Linked DNA regions of Homo sapiens: regions 1, 2 and 3 are each linked to region 4. The links are contacts of gene promoters, found by promoter capture Hi-C in blood cells and fetal thymus (Javierre and others, 2016). All regions are on one chromosome and are shown on one strand. The core of a region is centred on a gene start or on the middle of the fragment in contact, and the rest is flanking DNA. Distances in the headings are between cores, read along the strand shown.

Region 1 (4,535 bases), core at 489-2,988, 310 kb after region 4:
GCCCAGGAGTTTGAGGTTGCACTTAGCCATTATCATACCACAGCACCCCAGCCTGGGCGACAGAGTGAGACCTCATCTCTTAAAAAACTTAATTAATTCAACAGAAGGAAGAAAATGGGAACAAAAAATAGATGGAAATAGACAAGTAGAAAAATAATATGGTAGATTTAAATCCAATCATTAATGTTTTAGTTAGATGTAAATGATCTCAACAGCCCCATTGAAAGGGAGATACTGTTAAATTAGATAAAAGAGTACCAACTAACTCTGTGTTGCCTAGAAGCCCACTTTAAACATAAGGGCAAAAAAGATTAGAAATATATACTGTACTGAACACTAACCAAAAGTATGCCAAAGTGAGCATGTTAATATCAGATGAAGTAGACTTCAGAAGAAGAAATATTACCAGGGATAAGGAGAGCCAGTTCATTAAGGGAATTAAACATTTATGCCCCTGGCCAGGTGCCATGACTCAAGCCTGTAATCCCAGCACTTTGAGAGGCCAACGCAGACGAATCACTTGAGGCCAGGAGTTTGAGACCAACCATGATGAAACCCCGTCTTTACGAAAAAATACAAAAAAATTAGCTGGACATGGTGGTGCATGCCTGTAATCCCAGCTACTCGGGGGGCTGAGGCACGAGAATCATTTGAGCCCAGGAGGTGGAGGTTGCAGTGAGCCCAGATTGCATCACGGCACTCCAGCCTGGGTGACAGAGCAAGACTCTGTCTCAAAAAAAAAAATAAAAAAAAAAAATCCCCTAATAATGGAAATTCAAAATACATGAAGCAAAAAACTAATAAAACTGTAAAGAAAAATGGACAAATCCATAATGATGGTAGGAGGTTGCAACACCCCTATCAATAATTAAGCAAGTAGACATAAAATCAATAAGGATATAGGAGACGTGAACAGCACTGTCAACCAGTGTGACCTAATTGTAATCTATAGAATGTTCTACCCAACAAAAGCAGAATACACATTCTTTTCAAGTCTACACAGTATATTTAATAAAATTGGTCATACTCTGGGCCATTAAACATGTCAATACATTTAAAGTACAAAGTATGTTCTTTGTGATGGAACGACATTAGAAATCAATAGCAAAGCTGTCTGGAAAAGTTGCAAATAGTTGTTCCAAGTAAAAGTTTAAAAGTTCCAAACAAATAGCACACTTCTAAATAACTCATAGGTCAAAGAAAAAATCAAAAGGGAAAAATTAGGAAGTATTTTGAATTGAATGAAAAGACCACATTTCAAATTTTGTAGGATGGATTGAAAGCAATACTTGGAAAGTGGTAGCACTAACTTTCTATGTTTAGGAAAGAATAAAGGTGTCAAACTGATGACCTCAGCTTCTACCTTTAATTATCTTCTACCTTTAACTACAAAAAAGAGTAAATAAGGCCCGAAATAAGTGGAGGAAAGGAAATAGTAAAGATTGGAATGGAAATTGTTGAAATTGAAAAGAGGACAAACAAGAAAAAATTAAAAGCTGATTTTGTTGAGGTAATCAATAAAAATGAGAAACTACTACCCACACTGAGTGGGGGGGGAAAAGAGAGCAGGGATTACTAACATTTAGATTTAAAATCTAATATTTTATTAGATTTATTATTAGATCTAATAAAATCTAATATTTTATTAGATTTATTATTAGATCTAATAAAATCTAATATTTTATTAGATTTATTATTAGATCTAATAAAATCTAATATTTTATTAGATTTATTATTAGATCTAATAAAATCTAATATTTTATTAGATTTATTATTAGATCTAATAAAATCTAATATTTTATTAGATTTATTAATATTGTATTAAAATCTAATACACTTTATGTACAAGGTTTAGAATCACATTTAAAATAAGACTTTCAGGATTATTGCTAGGAGAACATGTTCTTGATATAATCGCTAACTTGATAGAATTGCTCCAGGTTTTAAATTTCTTGTTGAAAATTTTCACTTTCAAAATATTCAGAATAATGTTTGATGTTCCATTAGTTACAACTTCTTGATAAAGCCTTTTCTACATTTTTTTCATTAGGGTTTTTTGTGAATATTCCAATCTACAGAGAGTTTTGTTTTCTGGCAAAAGGATTTCCCACATTCTTTGCATTGATAGGATTTCTCTTTCTTAAGAGTTCCCTGATATTCAGTGAGTTATTCTTTCTGGATGAAGATCTTACCCTAGTCATAATATCGTGTTTCTCTATTATGTTACTGATATGGATTGGCTGTGTCCCCACCCAAATCTCATTTTGTAACTCCCATAATTCCCACGTGTTGTGGGAGGGACCCAGTGGGAGATAATTGAATAATGGGGGCAGGTCTTTCCCAGGCTGTTCTTGTGATAGTGAATAAGTCTCACGAGATTTGATGGTTTTAAAAAGAGAAGTTCCCCAGCACAAGCTCTCTCTTGTCTGCTGTCATTCATGTAAGACATGACTTGCTCCTCTTTGCCTTCCGCTATGATCGTGGGGGCTCCCCAGCCGTGTGGAACTGTAAGTCCATTAAACCTCTTTCTTTTGTAAATCGTCCAGTCTCATCTTTATCAGCAGCATGAGAAAAGATTAATACAGTGGCTTTTCTGATACATCAAGTGTGACTATTGCTGAAGGCATTTTAACATTCATTATTCTCATAGACTTTCTTTCTTCTGTATGTTCTCTGATTTTGAATTAAGGATTTGACTTCACACTGAATGTTTTCTTTCCTTAACTAGTTCTCTAATGTGCAGAGAGGTATGGATTCTGGAAGAAAGAATACAGTCCCCACCTGTATTCTCCCAGCTGTACTCTAGTGTGAGTGTGTATGTATGTGTGTGTGTGTGTGTGTTTATTTGGAGAAACTCAAGACCACAAACATTCAAGAAAAGGAGTAAAATAGCCTAGCAAGAAATCACTGCTGTACTCTGATTGCTGCTAACATGCAATTTTTCTATTAGAATTGTTCAATACTGAACCAATTTCAAACCATCCACTTTTTCTTCTTTCCCTCTTATTGATACGAGTCAATTTTACATGCTATTTCTCTTGAAGGAAGAGAGCACATGTGCAGATTAAATGTTTTTCCACATATATTATCTCTCTTCTTAATGTTTGGATCTTGAAGAACTGAAATTGGCGGGGTGTGGTAGCTCACGCCTGTAGTCCCATGCAATTTGGGAGGCCAAGGTGGGTGGATCACTTGAGCCCAGGAGTTTGAGACCAGCGAGAGCAACATGGCGAAACCCCATCTCTACAAAAAATACAAAAATGAGCCAGGCCTGATGGTACATGCCAGTCCCAGCTACTCAGGGGGCTGAGGTAGAGGATTGCTTGAGCCCAGGAGGTTGAGACTGCTGTGAGCCATGATCACGCCACTGCACGCCAGCCTAGGTGACAGAGCGAGACCCTGTTTCAAAAAAAAAAAAAAAACAGGTCTGAAATGCTGGCCTTGGCCTCCTGGGAACTATTTATTCAGGTAATCAACTTTCCAAAGTTGTTCTGTATAATACAGCTGTGACTTGGGAATTCTCTGCTATCCATTGTTCTTCTTACTTCGGAACAGGGCTCTAACACACCATCCACAGGATTCTTTTGCAGGGCCCAGTTGCTGCCCAGCTTGCAGGGCAAGGTCAGACTCACATTCTAGGTTGGCCCAGACTCAGCTGCTTTTAGGAAGGGCCAGAGTCCGGAAGCTAGACACCCTGCACTTTGGGTTCGGGATTATACCTAAACCTGGATGCCCAGGCCCTGCTTCCCAAGGGCTTCGAATCCTCTTGAAAAGTAGGTCATTTCAATAGAGATTTCCTCGTGAAAATTAAGAAGAGTGAAAAGTTAAGTCAAAGCTAGTAGAAATAAGAGTAAAGTATCTGGAAGAAGTGTACATGCTGGGAGAATTTGAGGGCAGCCAGGGTGAGTAGCAGAAAGGTGCTAATGATGTTTTTATTGCCTGTAACCTAACAAGCAAGTGAATATAAGCAAAAACTGTTGTGGCTGCTTGAAACAAGGAAATATATGAGTGGGAGAAAAAAATCAAGCCATTAGTTAAAGGAAGCGGCAGATCACAGTTGAGGTTGGTTCTGATTTATAGTCTTGCTACCTCTTTCAGAGGGTTTCATTATAACCCTCATTCTCTGTGATGCACTTCATAACTTTTCCAAGTGTATAGAATGAAGAAGCTTGCAACTAGAAGAGACCTGGAAAACAGTCATCTGTCCTTATTTTAAAATGAGGAACCTAGGCTTCAGAGAAGAATCACAAAATGATATAGAGGAATAATAAAATAATAAATACTTGGCAAAATCCTTTTACAGTATTTATTATTATTATAGATAATTGCAGCAATCATTTCCTGAACAGTTATCATGCAGATCTGTGATGAGCACATTCATCTGTGATGATTGTTATATTTAATGTAACTATGATATTATGATTATCCTCTGTATTAGTCCATTTTCACACTGCTATAAAGAACTACCTGAGACTGAGTAATTTATAAAGAGGTTTAATTGACTCACAGTTCCACAGACTTAACAGGAAGCATGA
Region 2 (4,343 bases), core at 264-2,763, 270 kb after region 4:
AATTATCTTTTTGACTTCCTTGAAAGCGTCCTGGGGTTGAACCAATAAGATAAACACTAAAAAGACATAAAAACACAAGTTATAAAATATAGTGATGTGCTTTGGGCACCAAAAAAAATGACAAAATACACATGAAAACTAATATAATCAAGAAATGATCTAAGAGCCAATCCATTTTCTTGAATTGACTCTCAAATTCATTTTCAAGCAAATCAACTAATGATGGAATGCCTACAAGATGTAAAGTACCAGACAAAGAACTCAATAATTGTGAGAGTAACCCAGTGGGAGGCTAAGGTAAACATGAGGATTCACTGGCTGTCACTTTAATGCCTGAGAACCACAAGATACAGATGTGATAGAATCTGCTCATCCCCTCATCACATCCTGAAGCTTGGCTAGATTTCACCCCACCTCTTTCCAGGCCCCTGCATGCCAGACCTCATGAGGCTCCCAAGGTATAAGCCTATCATAAGCACCCCAAATTGATAAGCTGACACATACTTTGTTTCAGAGAGATCGTGCTTGTGAATGACATCTATCCACTCCTTGAGAGAAGGGGCATTATAAGCCATCAAGTAACTGATGAGATCAGCTTTAAAATGTGTTGGCGACTCTCCAGATTTGTGGGTTCCATCAGCAATTCGTGGGTATAAGGGGCTCAACCATATTCTGGAATTAAAAAAATAACCTTTAACAGTCAGGCACACAACTGATCATAATGATCTCTGTATCGATTATGCCTTCATCCTAAGAAAGAGGTGAATTCTCGGTATCTCCACATGGTAAGTAATCTTAGGAAACATGAAACATAAATCTGAGAACACCACTCCAATGGTTTCTCATCACATTCAGAATTATTCCTGAATGTCTTGCCATGAATTTAAGATTCAGTAAGACCTGGGCTCTGCCCACCTCTTCCAACCCACATCCCTCCATGCTCCCTCTCACTTGCCAAACCTTCCTTATTGCTCCTCTTACCTCTGCACCTATATATTGCTTTCTAAGACTTGATGACAAGAGTTAAGAATTCTACTCTTAACGGTTAAAGCAAATCCATGCTACTAGTGGTAATCCCAAGCAAGAATTTGCCCTTGTCTGCATCAATGCAGCTCTTCAGCCAAATGTGAAATAAGAATTGTGTTATCTATACCAAAAGTGCATGTGAAAAATCTATTTTCAATTAACAAACCCATTTTCATAACGTAGGTCCTATAGCAGCATATTTTTATGTCTTATACTTTCTGGTGCCTGGATTAAGTATATATCACATTCAGTGACATTACAATAACCTCAAACTTTCAACACTTAATTCACTGAAGAAGCATTACAGACATCTTTCATTTCATTAATTCTTTTTCCCTAGAGGAAAACAATGCTCTTTGCCAAAACTTCTACATTATATCCATAAATAGAAAACAATCATATCTAATCCCAATCCTTCTATAAACTGCTCCACAGTAGATTACTAAAATGGCTTCAAACCTCTTGTGCTTCAGTTTCTTCAAATGCAAAAAAGTGGGGTTAACAAGGCTGCCTCACTGGGCTGTTGCAAAGCAATGACTTACAGGAGCAGTCAAAAGTATCAGGTGTTACTTTTTTCCCCTTCTGTGGCTACTCTCCTTTTCCCCACCCTGGGTTCTATCTATTAAGCTGAAAGAGAAACTGCCCAATTTCTCTTTCACCTGGCAGCCCCTGAAGGAGACTGGCAAGATGCAGGCCACCAGGGCAGAAGGCATCCAGAACTGCAAGGACTCTCGGCCGTACATCTTCTCAACTCTGCAAGTTTCTAGCAAGGGGCATTTCATACCCCTGCTTCCCACCCTGGGGAGACACTTAGCACAGGAGGTAGCATGGTGTGATGAGGGCTGGAGCCCATGTTCTGGACCCAGATCGACTAGCTGACTATACCATTTTGGGTAAGCTCTGTGATCTCTCTGGGCCTTTGCCTCCGTGTGTAAAATGACCAGGTTGGGCTGGACAGACGTGGAGGACCTCCCCTTGCAATAGCACCTCAAAGTTCCCAGGCTGAGTGAGGCTCCTCCTGGATCAGAGATTCACTCACAGGTGAGTTCTGGATGAGAAACAAGACAAATGACTTTCTAAACTAAGATGCTGAGATATGAGGCATTTTTAACACATCACAAAATGAGAAAATTATTATAATGAGCCAAATAATTTTATTTTATTCTTTACTGTGAGCTTTGGATGCAACTCTTGTTCTAATTTTAAAAAGTGAGAAATCAACAGGTGGATCATGAGGCAGCTGAAGGGGATTAGCAGAACCACAGTAGACCAATTATGAAGTGAGATTGTATACAAAAACTGCTTTCAAAAGTTTTAAAATTACCACAAATAACATGAAATGCAAAACATTAGAGAGTAGAATATAGGCCAAGCATGAAATAATAGGATCCCACACCAGGATGGCTGCCAGAGGAAGATTTCATAGTCTTGGTACTTTCTGAGTTTTGAACCGTTCCTACCTAGTCAATAAGTTTTCCAAAATTTTAAATTAAAAAATACTTTTTTTAAATAAAAGAAACACCCAAGCCCTTATCCCTGCCTCTTCCCTCCTGGCAACCACCCCAGAGAATCCCAAGACAGTACTACTGCCTGTAAGCTAAGCTTCCAACTTCAGAAGGAGCTGGAGGCCCAGGGTGGGATTCTTGGAACCACGTGAGGCTGAGAGCTAACCTGAGAAATCCCTTTAGTAACATTGTTTCATGAGAACAAGCTACATTAATCTCATTGCCTTTTGATAGGGCCACATGAATCCCCAAACCCAATCTGGCAGCTCAGGAGAACTGGCTTAGAAGCTCTTGGGGTACCAAAGGCATAGTTAACCATAAATTCAGTAGATCAAGAAAGTGCTACAGCTGAGACTTAGAGACCAAGCAGCTATCCCCTCAACCCTGGACCAGTCAGAGCCACACTTCATTTTGAAAAGCATATTTTCAGTGGGATACTGAAAAATTATAACATGTTTATAGAAAAGCGACCAGGAATTACAGCTAGGGGTCTCAAAGCCACATGCTATGGTGGGGCAAGGGAGTGGGGAGGGAACAAGAGATGTAAGGCTCAGAAACAAGACTCCCTTTCAAACTCTGAAGGACTGCTTTAAGGGAGGGAGATTACATTTGTCCTGCGCAGTGCACTCAGGTTGAAGCAAGACCTGTTGAAGGAAACTGGAAAGCTATTTCAGCTCAAACTAAGATGTAACTTGGGGCCAGGCACGGTGGTTCATGCCTGTAATCTCAGCACTTTGGGAGGCTGAGGCAGGCGGATCACTTGGCAACTAGGCAAAACCTTGTCTCTACAAAAAATAAAGACAGTTAGCCAAGTGTGGTGGTACGTGCCTGCAGTCCCAGTTACCCAGAAGGCTGAGGTGGGAGGATCACCTGAGCCCAGGAGGTTGAGGTTAAAGTGAGCCGTGATCGCATCACAGCATTGTAACCTGGGTGACAGAGTGAGACCGTCTCAAAAAAACAAACAAAACAAAGATGTAACCTGGGCTCAGCAGAGCTTAGCTGAAAGTAATACACTCCAAATTAGGAGTTCTAGCCCAAGCTAGGCAATGATATGGGGCAGGGTGAGGCAGAGGAGGATGACAGAGAAAACGTGAACCTGGAAATGGTGCTAGACAAACGTCCGAGTTTCTCCCAACACAGAAGGCTGTTTGTTAACCAGCTCTTCTCTAGCACAGGCAGAGATGTACAAAATGGCTTAAACAAAAGAAAATTAAAGTTAGTCATAATCAAGAACAATAGCTGAACTTGTTGAGCAAATCCCTAAAGCTCCCTTTTAAAAAGCAAACCCCTCTTGAAAAGGGGATCAAAACCTGGATCTAGCATATGTGCACCAAGTACAGAGGGTTAGTAGTTTAAAAAGTTCATAAAAGCTTTCGTATTCAGTTCTTCTCTTGGAGATTCACAACTTTATTAACACACTAAAGGCTCTAAAAAGACACCAGCTTAAATTTGTTTCAAAGAAAATACACCAACTGGGGGAGTGGGGAAATATTTAGCACACTATTAACATGACCAGGCCCTACCCCAACTTTTCCTTTGATTCCTGTTTGGGAAGTGGTAAGCAAAAATACAGGTGGGTACATGAGTAAGGAGAAATCACAAAAGCTATCTGGTAAATCCTACTAGGAAAACAATAGGTTCAGATCTTTCATTCTGTAACCCCTTTTCTGCCTCAGATCTCTGCATGTGCTGTGCCCTCTACTTAGCTGTAGAGTGTATATGATGCCACTTCTCTAAAAACTAGGAAGAGACTACTGTGTGTAAATAGTAATGTATGTTTACATGTACAGCAGAGGTAGCTGTGGATGATGA
Region 3 (4,989 bases), core at 1,175-3,674, 300 kb after region 4:
TTCTGGTTGCAGCTCATCATCACTGCTGGACAGACACCAGCCGAGGTCCTCCTGGGAACCGCTTTTCTGCCTTTTGGGAGGTAAAACTGAATCTGTATTGCTGAATTTCACAGGTGATATTTTCCTCTTGTGTGCAGCTTTCTGGGCCTCGGAACAGGTGTACCTGGGCTCATTTGCTGCTCCTTGCCTGGCACAGAGAAGAGAAGAGGTAGATGGCTTGTCTGGTTTTGGCTTTTCTTCCTCACTTTCATCACTACTAGATATGGTCCACCTCCCATAATCGCCTTCCTGAGACATTATACTCCTGGAAATGAAAAGTGGAAACATCAGCATTTCCCATTCATCAGGGCATTGGCAAAATAACTTTATTGCTCTCAACTTCCCTGTCAGATGAGCTGACACCTTCCAGAGGCTGAACCACCTAACATCAGCTGCTTTTTGGGTGTTTATAAGCACATTACCAGAATCCACTATCAGATTCTGCCAAATCACAAGCAAAAGTCCTGGTCACCTTTCTTTTTTCTTCCTTTTTTTTTTTGAAACAGGGTCTCGCTCTGTCACCCAGCTGGAGTGGTGCAGTGGTTCAATCTCAGCTGACTGCAACATCTGCCTCCTGGGCTCAAGCAATCCTCCTGCCTCATCCTCTCGAATAGCTGGAACTACAGGTGCACGCCATCACGTCTGGCTAATTTTTTTTTTCTTTTTTTTTGGTAGAGACAGGGTTTCATTATTGTTGCCCAGGCTGGCCTTGAACTCCTGGACTCAAGAGATCCACCCACCTTGGCCTTCCAAAGTGCTGGGATTACAAGTATAAGCCACCATGCCTGGCCTTGGCTTTCAATCTAAACTTTGTTCTTAGATGTCCTAGGAAAGGGGGTTGAAGAATGCATCAAGACAAATGCCAAAATAAAACAAACATTCATTCTTGACCCCGAAACTTCCAATAAGCGTTTGGGATTAAGGTCCATTTAATCTATGTTCAAATGCTTAAGGTCAAATTGGAATTTACAAACCTAGCCTTCACCCAAGTACAGGCACCCACAGGACTTCAGTGATTATGTATGTCTTACTTCCCAAAAGACAACCCATTTACCATAAAGCTTAACAAAGTCTTCAAGAGGAAAGCCAAATGACCACTTAGGTATGTACATTATTTACACTACTTCCATGAGGACCCAACTAATTATAATTAGTTGGATATAATTATATCAAGATATAATTATCCTATTGGCTACATCATAAATCTACTAACACCTACACAGAAATAACTTGTACTGAAGCAACACACTTTTATTTTTTAAGCCCCACAGTCAAATTCTACTTTCTTGTTCTGAGAACAGGAAAGTACACGAAACAGTCACTTTTGCTGTTACCTACCAAATCTTGTCAATTCAGTGGTAAAGGACTATCTAAGTAGACTTTCCAGACAGCTAAAGAACAGTTCCTCAATGTGATACTTTTAACATTTTAGCACAAGACCCAGGGGAAAATTACAAAACTCAGTAGTCTGTGCTCAGATCAACAGTATCTTCGAGTTTCTGCTGTTTTAATGAGGCTGGAAAAGATGCATTGAGTGGAGTAAACCAAGATGGTGACACTCCCTTCACAAAACCTACATTCCCCAAAAAAGAGAATTCAACATTATTCTACATCAAAAGATTTGCAAATCAATACATATGCATATGTCTCTAGATGAGAACTAAAAATAAAAATCTTGGCTAAGGGGACCCCAGAGAAACCTTAAAAACTGAGTTCCGGGCCATGATGAGATGGGAGCTCAGACATGCCTGTTATATCCCCTCCCTTCTGCGGTTTAAACACAACTGACCAGAGATCGTAAGACTGGCAGAATAGATTCTGTGACAATATGACACTAAATCATAAACAAGACCTAAGGCCATGCCAAGCAAGGGTTAAATCACACACTGCTACCTTTAAACTATGTTCTACCTTCCACAAGGTTCTTTTTTCTTCAGCAGCTAAATAAGCACTGGCCTAGAGATAAGGAATATCTAAACAATTGCAGCTCACCTACTGCCAGATGCTTGACTAACTGACCCCTCTGGTTCCACAGGCCATGACTGCAGCTGTCATTGGACAATGGAGTAACTTTCTCCTGAAAAGAAACCACAGACTGGTTCTGACCAGTCCTCAGAGGCTGAGCACTGAGTGCCTTCATGTCTCTCCTTCACCTTTTGACAGAGGGCCTAATTGTAATTCATTCAAATGTTAAGTCTCCATCCCAAAGTGAACACGAGATGCACAAAACACACGTTTGCTCATTACACATGCACACGTGTCCCCCCTTGGTGAATATTCATAGCTCCTCCCACACCTGTTGAATACTATACTTGGCCAACCCATTCAGTATAAATCTCTGTTCTACCCTCTCCTCCCTGGGATGCCATTAAAGGTCTCTGCCTGAGGCTGTGCTTCCCAGCCTGTCAGGCCACACTGCAGGCTGTAGCCCTTTATAAGAACTAAGCTCTCCTTTCTAAATGTATAGATCTCATGATTTTTTCAGTGAACACAGCAGGGCGGGGCAGGGGAGGGTTGGAAATACTTTAAAGGTATCTATCCCTTTTCACAATTTCTCTCTTCACCTTTTTCAATTAACTACCAGTCAAGTTAAGCAAGCCTTCTGTAAATTACACATTTCAAGGAACTTTTATGCAAGAATGCATCAAGACAATAATCTGGCCCATTCTTCATGGCTCTGGGTCATTATTACCCTACCCAGCATGAACACACTATCTCACAGCCAAAGCCTTATTGACTGTAGAGAGGGCTGGGGCCACTTGCTCCTGTAATAGTGACCCTAGACTGTCTGGCTCTTTTGAGCCCTCATATCTGCTTTCTAAAAGTTTCTATTTATTTCTACACTCTGTCCAGCCCACTTCAAGGGGTTGTTAAAACTCATAGCATAGGTATATTTTCCCTAAATTGTTTCTAATCTGCTAAGGGTTAAGAAACTAGATAACTGGGTTTGTAGAACTGTATTGTCATGGTTAAAGGGGTCTGAGTGCCCAGTTTCCTCCATGAAAGAGATTCAGATTGATTTACTACTCAACACCTACTTAAGCAGCTCAGAGGTGGTTTTTTAAATGTTTTTAATCCTTCCGGTTTGAAAAAAAAACCCACAAAACCTTAGGTTCCTCTAGTGTTCTAGAGTCTAGAAGTTGCTGGATAGGGGTATTTAAGCTGTTACAATACACTTTGAAGAAACTATTTCAGTGGCTACAGTTTCGTGACTTTAAAGTTATCTAGGAACAAAAGAACCACCTTAGGAAAAACCACTCTCTGAATGTCAGCTCTAGGTTCCTTTGAATTCTACAACAGTTCTAAACCAAGGCGGTGAGTAATAGAATCTTCCATTACAGTCCTCAGGCTGTTCTCTATAGATACCTTGCCCATTCTAAAGTAAGTAGCAGGTCTTAGTTTTTGGTGAGAAAGGATTCAGCTTCCACTCTCAGAAGCAGTTGCAGAATCTTAAGAGGCTACCATAACAAATATGGTTGCCTGCATTATATAAATAAAATGGAATTTCCAAACACTGAGAATTCTGTGCTAAGTACATTATTATGTACTAAGAGTTGCTAAGGTAAAATCCTTAGCAACTCTGTGAATTATTTAGAGAATTTCAAAGGTTTTTAAGTTTTATCATTATCTCCATTTTCTAAAACCATATGGAAGTGGAATTCCCTCCAACAAAGTAGGACAAGAGGATAAAAAATAAAACAAAGCTTTAAAAAAGACATTTTCTAGAGAACAAAGCCTTTTTTTGGGGTTCTGCTCTATAAAGTTTTGGACCTGCTGAAACTCAAAAATATGCCTGAGTTGCTTATTACAACCTAATACAATTTATTGGGTTACAATTTAGTGCAACAGACTAATAAAATTGTGTCTTGTTGTTAAATGTAGCAGCTTACCAACCTCTTTATGACATCAAGGCTCCCGCCCAGTTGGAAAAGAACTGCTAGTAAACACCAATATCAAACTTTTACTTTGGATAACTGGTCACCAGTAACAGAATTTACTTCCCTCATAGAGGCTCTGGTGCCCAGCATTTCAGAGTGCTTTGTAATCAAGTCATACAGTTTTAAGAAATGTAGAACCTGAGAGCTTTCCTTCAATTGTTTATCATCTGTCTTCCCTGCCTGGGCAGTGCTTGGTACAGCATAAATCTGAAGTCACACTTTTTGTAAGTGGTACTGAAAGAATCAGAATACAATATAGCTGTGTTGATTCTGAATCCTGGCACTCAATCAGAACGGCACAGTGTTTCCTGAAGTGGAAGTGATTGGGACCTGACATTATGAAAGTACTTCCCTTTCCATTCCAATCCAAACTCCCTGTTTAAATCAAGAAGAAAGTTGTAGTGTTGTAGAAATGCTTTTAATCTTGATTTTGAACAAATAGCAGGGTTTGGGCTCTTCTGCAGGCACCAACAATTTTGTTTACCATCAACAGAAGGTATCTTATGGCTACGTTATATTTGAAATAGCAAAATAAAGTTTATTTTATGTAAAAGAATGATTGGATTCAAACAAAAATATTAAGTATATGATAGTCTATGTGATAGCGGCAGGAGGCAGACAAATCCCTAGGCAGATAGGGGCAGGGCCCCAGTGAAACCCCACCTGCAAACCAAAGACAGTTTAAAGCCTGAAAGCCAAGCTACAAGTGTTGGGTAAATCCACGGACCGGATTGATAACCCCTCTTCCCACTTGGCACACTTTCCTCTGATCAATCCCCACCCTTCACCTACTTTACATATATCTACCCTTCCCTAATTGGTTTTTTACATTGTCATGCCCACCTTTGAGTGGTGCCTTTGTTTTAGCCTTTTTTGCATACTCACAAACCATGGAGCACACACTCCCTCATTCTGAGCCCATAAAAGCCCCAGACTCAGTCACACCAGCGAACTGCCCACCTTGGGGTCAGGGCAGGGGCCATCCACTTGGGGTCCCGTCTCTGCTGAGAAC
Region 4 (4,972 bases), core at 38-2,537:
GGCGGGCGGATCATAAGGTCAGGAGTTCAGGACCAGCCTGGCCAACAGAGTGAAACGCCGTCTCTACAAAAATACAAAAATTAGCCGGGCGTAGTGGCGGGCGCCTATAGTCGCAGCTACTTGGAAGGCTAAGGCAGGAGAATCGCTTGAACCCGGGAGGCGGAGATCGCGCCACTGCACTCCAGCCTGGACGACAGACCAAGACTCCGTCTCAAAAAAATAAAAATTAAAATTAAAATAAAAAAGACCTCTATGAGATCTGGCCTTCTTGCCGTTCATGATACAGGTTAAACATTCCCATCTCAGGTCCTTTGCACTTGCTGTATCTTCTGCCTTGACCACATTTCCCTCAGACATCTGCAGGGGTTACTCCCTCAATTTCGGTCCGCTCAAATTTCACCTCCTCAGAGCTACCTTCGCTGACTCTATAAAAAGCAGCCACTCCTCCAAGCTATCCCTTTCTATACAATAACCATACAACAATGACCACCCCACCCCTGACATCATATTACATATTTCTGATGATTGTCTGCCTTCTGCTCTAGAATGTACGCACTATGAAGGCAGGGACTTCAATCAATCCTCAGTGTCTACAACAGAAGCTAGCCAAAAGTTTAACAACAACAACAAAACACCAAGTGCTCAGTAAATACTTGTTTAGTGAATTGATGAATAAATGCTAGCTGTTTTTATTATTACTACTGCACCACGGGCCCTTTCCGTCTTAGCTCCGCCTGTCATAACAACGTCTTTAAGGCCTCCTTCAAATGCCCCCAGCTCCGAAAGGCCTTCCACGACTCCGCGCTCAACTCCTCAGGTGGAATGAATCCCACCCTCTTCTCCAGCACCCTTCACCTGCCCGACTCAAAAAGCATTTTTCCCGGTGACTCGAGGAGGCGCCCCCGAAACTCCCAGCGCCGATCAGCAAAGCCCTGGTCGGCGGAGCAGCAAAGCCAGCGGCCTGATCCGTTCTGCCGCCCCACAAGACCACGCAGGAGACCCTCTCTCTGCTCTGAGCCCCGGCCCCAGGATCCCCGGGCAAGGCCCGTTGGTCGGCCCCGGCCCGCGGTGGACATGAGCGCGGTCTCTGGGAGCCTCCACCCGCCGAGAAGATCAGGCCGGCAAAAGGAGAAGAGGGCTGTCCCAGTTCCTCGGGCAGCCGCCTCTTTCTCTCGCCTCAGGCTGCTGAGACCCCATCGCACCGCGACGACCAGCGGAAAGAAACCCTTAGTCACTCACCATCTTGCCTTGGCCACTTGAGCTGCCGCTGCCGGAAGTTCCTCCACCACTGCGGCCCGCCAGAGGCGGAAGTCGTTAGGGACGCTACGGAAGCTGATAGGAACCAAATTCTGCGCTGACCAAGTTGTGCTCCAAGGGCTTGTGCGGGCGGTCTAGGGCAACGCAGCAGTTTATAAGCATAAAGTGAACTTTATAAATATTTTACTTGAAAGAAATTTTTGAATACCCGTTATGAGGCGCTTGTCAACAACTTAAGACAATGACCCCTACTGTCAAAGAATTAGGACAATCGTGAAAATATAAAATATTTAAATTATGCAAAATTTATAACTGGGAAGAACTTTATGGTTCTAAAAACTGGAATGGTATTTGGAACTGGGAAGTTGACATATACATTTGCACAAATATTTCAGTTATTATTCAGCTTCTGGAATTTAACCTGCACATCTGGGAGTATGTGTGTAACGAGTCTTCTAAACCTGTCTTTTTCTGATGACCTGTGACTTGTGATGATGCCAAATGTCTTAAATTCCTCATCTTGAAGCTGATTGGTAAAGTTCCTCATTTGTTACACCCTCCAGGACATCAGAAAAATGGCAACAATCCCTTCTGTTTCTGGAAATTTCATTAACAAGTGCTCAAAATACTGCATCTTTCTGAACTGGAGAAATGGATGATTTTTTTTCTGCTCCAGATTGATTTAGGGATTTTAGTTGTGAAACACTAAAAATATTTCCCTTATGAACACACAACAGGTATACTTCTTCCTTTTCATCATCACTGCAACACGGTAATAGAAAGTCTTAGCACTATCGACCTCTGTTAACAAATCTGGCATCTAGTGTACATGACACATGAAATCACACGATAGGACAGTATCACACATAGGATAGAGATGGTGAAACTCCCATCTCTACTAAAAATACAAAAATTAGTCGGGCATCATCGTGGGCATCTGTAATCCCAGCTGCTTGGGAGGTCGAGTCATGAGAATCTCTCGAACCTGGGAGGCGACGGTTGCAGTGAGATCACGCCCCTGCACTCCAGTCTAGGTGACAGAGCGAGACTCTGTCTCAAAAAAAAAAATTAATAAAAATTTAAAAAACAAAATAAATATCCTTTCCCTAATGCATTTTACAAGAAACAAGTAAATAGTAAAATATATAGTATGCCACATAGTGGTAAATGCCATAGGAAAAATTAATGCCTAGGAAAAATGCCTAGGATTAGGAGCATGCAGCAGTGGTGGGTGATTTTAACTTTAAATTGGATGATACTTGAGCAAAAGCCCGTAAGGCATGAAGGAGTAAGCTATTCAGATATCTGGTGGAAGAGCTTTCTAGGTAGAGGGAACAGCCAGGGCAGAGGCCCTGCAGTAGAAGCTGCAGAGGATGGAGATTAGAGACACCATATAGTGAAGAAGTCAGAAACAGGCACATAACTCCCAGTGGAAGCTCAGCGGTTAAAGGCGAGTCAATAGAACCCAGTAATGAAGAGAGTAGCCAACGTTGGCATCAGACTTTCCTATTGTGGCTGTAGGAAGTGACATAAAGTAAGCAGAAAATTTAAGTTTATCTACATAATGGACAGCTAAGAGAAAGCAGGGAGAGGATTAGAAAGACTACTTGGAGTGCTCAGCACTTGGGGAGGTTGGAAGTTGCAAGTGGAAAAGAGGGAGAGTTGCAGAGATGACTGTCAACCGGGTGGGGAGGATTGAGAGTCAGCCATAGGGCAAAAGAGATGCACAGGGGCTGGGCGCCGTGGCTCACGCCTGTAATCCCAGCACTTTGGGAGGCCGAGGCGGGTGGATCACCTGAGTTCAGGAGTTCAAGACCAACCTGACCAATATGGTGAAACCTCATGTCTACTGAAAATACAAAAATTAGCTGGGAGTGGTGGCAGATGCCTGTAATCTCAGGTACTCGGGAGGCTGAAACGGGACAATCGCTTGAACCTGGGAGGCGGAGGTTGCAGTTAGCCGAGATTGCGCCATTGCACTCCAGCCGGGGCGAAAAGAAGGAAAATCCATCTCAAAAAGAAAAAAAAAGAAAGTGACCATAAATGTAGTGCTCAAAGCTAGAAGGTCTCTGGGTTAGAAGTTCAACTTGGGTCTCACAGGGCTAAAATCAAGATACCAACAGGTTTCCTCTCCGGAGGCTCTGCTCTAGCTGTGTGACATCAGCAAGTCATCCTCATTTTCTCATCTGTATAACGGGATAATTATCTACCTTGCCGGCTGAGGATACGGAGAGGATAAAACTCTTGTTTTTTGATTCTTAAGAGATTTTTGCCAAAAGTAGATGGAATGGAGGCTGAGGTAGGAAGGTGTCCAAACGTGGACGGAGGGCTCATGCTAGGGTGGACAGAGGGGGCGGGGCCGGGGTGGACAGAGGGCAGGTGCCAGAGGCGAGCGTGCATCCTGTTCAGCAGCCCCCCTGCAACCTCAAGCACATCAGAACCAGCCCAGATGCTGACAAAATGCAGACTCTGGTGCCATCCGCCAGAGACTGTGATTCTATAGGCCCATGGCAGGGCCCAGACACCTGCATTTTAACAGATACCCCAAGGGATTCTGAGGCTGGGTGACTCATACACCACATTTTTAGAGCCGGAACTCCAGAACACTGGTCTGCAAAGCAGGGCAGCCACACCCTGGTGGCCCAGGGGCCCATTCGTGTGTTGGAAGAAGCCATCAGAATGACTTTTTATTTAAAAAATAAGAATAATTACTAATCAAACAGCCAAGGGGTTAACGCCAGGTCTCGTTTCCAGCCTTGTCACCAGTGAGCTGTGTTGTTGTGTCTCAGTTCTGTCGTCTGTGAAATAGGGACCTTTATAGTTCCTCCTTCATGGTGCCATTGTTTGAGGACTAAAGTAAAATGCTGAGAATTGCACTTGGCATAGGACAATTACTCTAGGTATCAGCTACTCTGATTATTATTATTATTTTGAGACAAGGTCTCATGCTGTTACCCAGACTGGAGTGCAGTGACAGAATCTTGGCTCATTGTAACCTCCACCCCCCAGGTTCAAGCGATTCTCCTGCCTCAGCCTCCCAAGTAGCTGGGATTACAGGCACCCGTCCCCATGCCCAGCTAATTTTTGTATTTTTAGCAGAGACGCGGTTTCACCATGCTGGCCAGGCTGGTCTCCAACTCCTGACCTCAAGTGATCCACCCACCTTGGCCTCCCAAAGTGCTGGGATGACAGGTGTGAGCCACCGCGCCTGGCCTTATTAGTATTTCTTGTTAATATACAAATTGCCATTGGCACACTCATTCTGTGCATATATTAGATGGTCCCGTATCCCATTCAAAATTTACAATCTCTTCGTAGAGTGGTACAGTGATCTTCAAACACATTTCTTCATGCATTCTCGAAAGTAATTTGCAAAATGTATTTCTTGATACATTTCTAGGTTAGCATCTAAATTTCATATAAGTTTAAATAGCTGCAAATGATCCACTTGCCAGGAAGTTTTAAGTATTGACATTTTAATGTATATACACAAAGGAATCTAACTATCATGATAGCTTGATATCTCATCCATTTCAAACTTATGTACGCAGGCTCTTTTCTAGCATTGAAAATATTTGCTTTCATCTCTTTTCCCTTTGAAGCGAATATTTCCATTCCATTTATCATGCATACTTTTATCCTAATATCATGTATGTTGAGGCTGGAAAACATTTTATTGATTGACCTCTCGCACATTTTTGCAAAAGTTTTATGT

What was found. Contacts are between HindIII fragments. The CHiCAGO score rates a contact against its expected background, and 5 or more counts as called.
Region 1: a contact is called between a fragment that was not itself captured here and the fragment with the promoter of PSMC1 in region 4, in 1 of 17 cell types (monocytes). The highest score is 5.6, in monocytes.
Region 2: a fragment that was not itself captured here is called in contact with the fragment with the promoter of PSMC1 in region 4 in 1 of 17 cell types (M2 macrophages); the score reaches 5.3 in M2 macrophages.
Region 3: a fragment that was not itself captured here is called in contact with the fragment with the promoter of PSMC1 in region 4 in 11 of 17 cell types (M2 macrophages, M1 macrophages, monocytes and 8 more); the score reaches 12.6 in M2 macrophages.

What each region holds. Positions count from the first base shown.
Region 1 is chr14:89,942,135-89,946,669 of GRCh38, reverse strand. All of the region lies in intron 3 of EFCAB11 (EF-hand calcium binding domain 11), which reads left to right. Among named protein-coding and RNA genes, the nearest start is that of EFCAB11, 10 kb to the left of the region's middle. The HindIII fragment of the contact is 4,864 bases long and covers 1-4,170 here.
Region 2 is chr14:89,980,845-89,985,187 of GRCh38, reverse strand. It overlaps TDP1 (tyrosyl-DNA phosphodiesterase 1), which reads right to left. Exons shown (of 17, transcript NM_018319.4): 9 at 505-672; 10 at 1-56. Among named protein-coding and RNA genes, the nearest start is that of TDP1, 27 kb to the right of the region's middle. The HindIII fragment of the contact is 2,235 bases long and covers 396-2,630 here.
Region 3 is chr14:89,958,423-89,963,411 of GRCh38, reverse strand. TDP1 (tyrosyl-DNA phosphodiesterase 1) reads right to left here. Exons shown (of 17, transcript NM_018319.4): 3 at 1-304. The coding sequence starts at 297. Among named protein-coding and RNA genes, the nearest start is that of TDP1, 5.0 kb to the right of the region's middle. RefSeq lists enhancers at 1-536, 4,919-4,989. The HindIII fragment of the contact is 2,643 bases long and covers 1,103-3,745 here.
Region 4 is chr14:90,252,868-90,257,839 of GRCh38, reverse strand. PSMC1 (proteasome 26S subunit, ATPase 1) reads right to left here and starts at 1,287. Exons shown (of 11, transcript NM_002802.3): 1 at 1,240-1,287. The coding sequence starts at 1,242. RefSeq lists enhancers at 584-1,111, 997-1,236, 1,112-1,641. The HindIII fragment of the contact is 16,889 bases long and covers 1-4,972 here.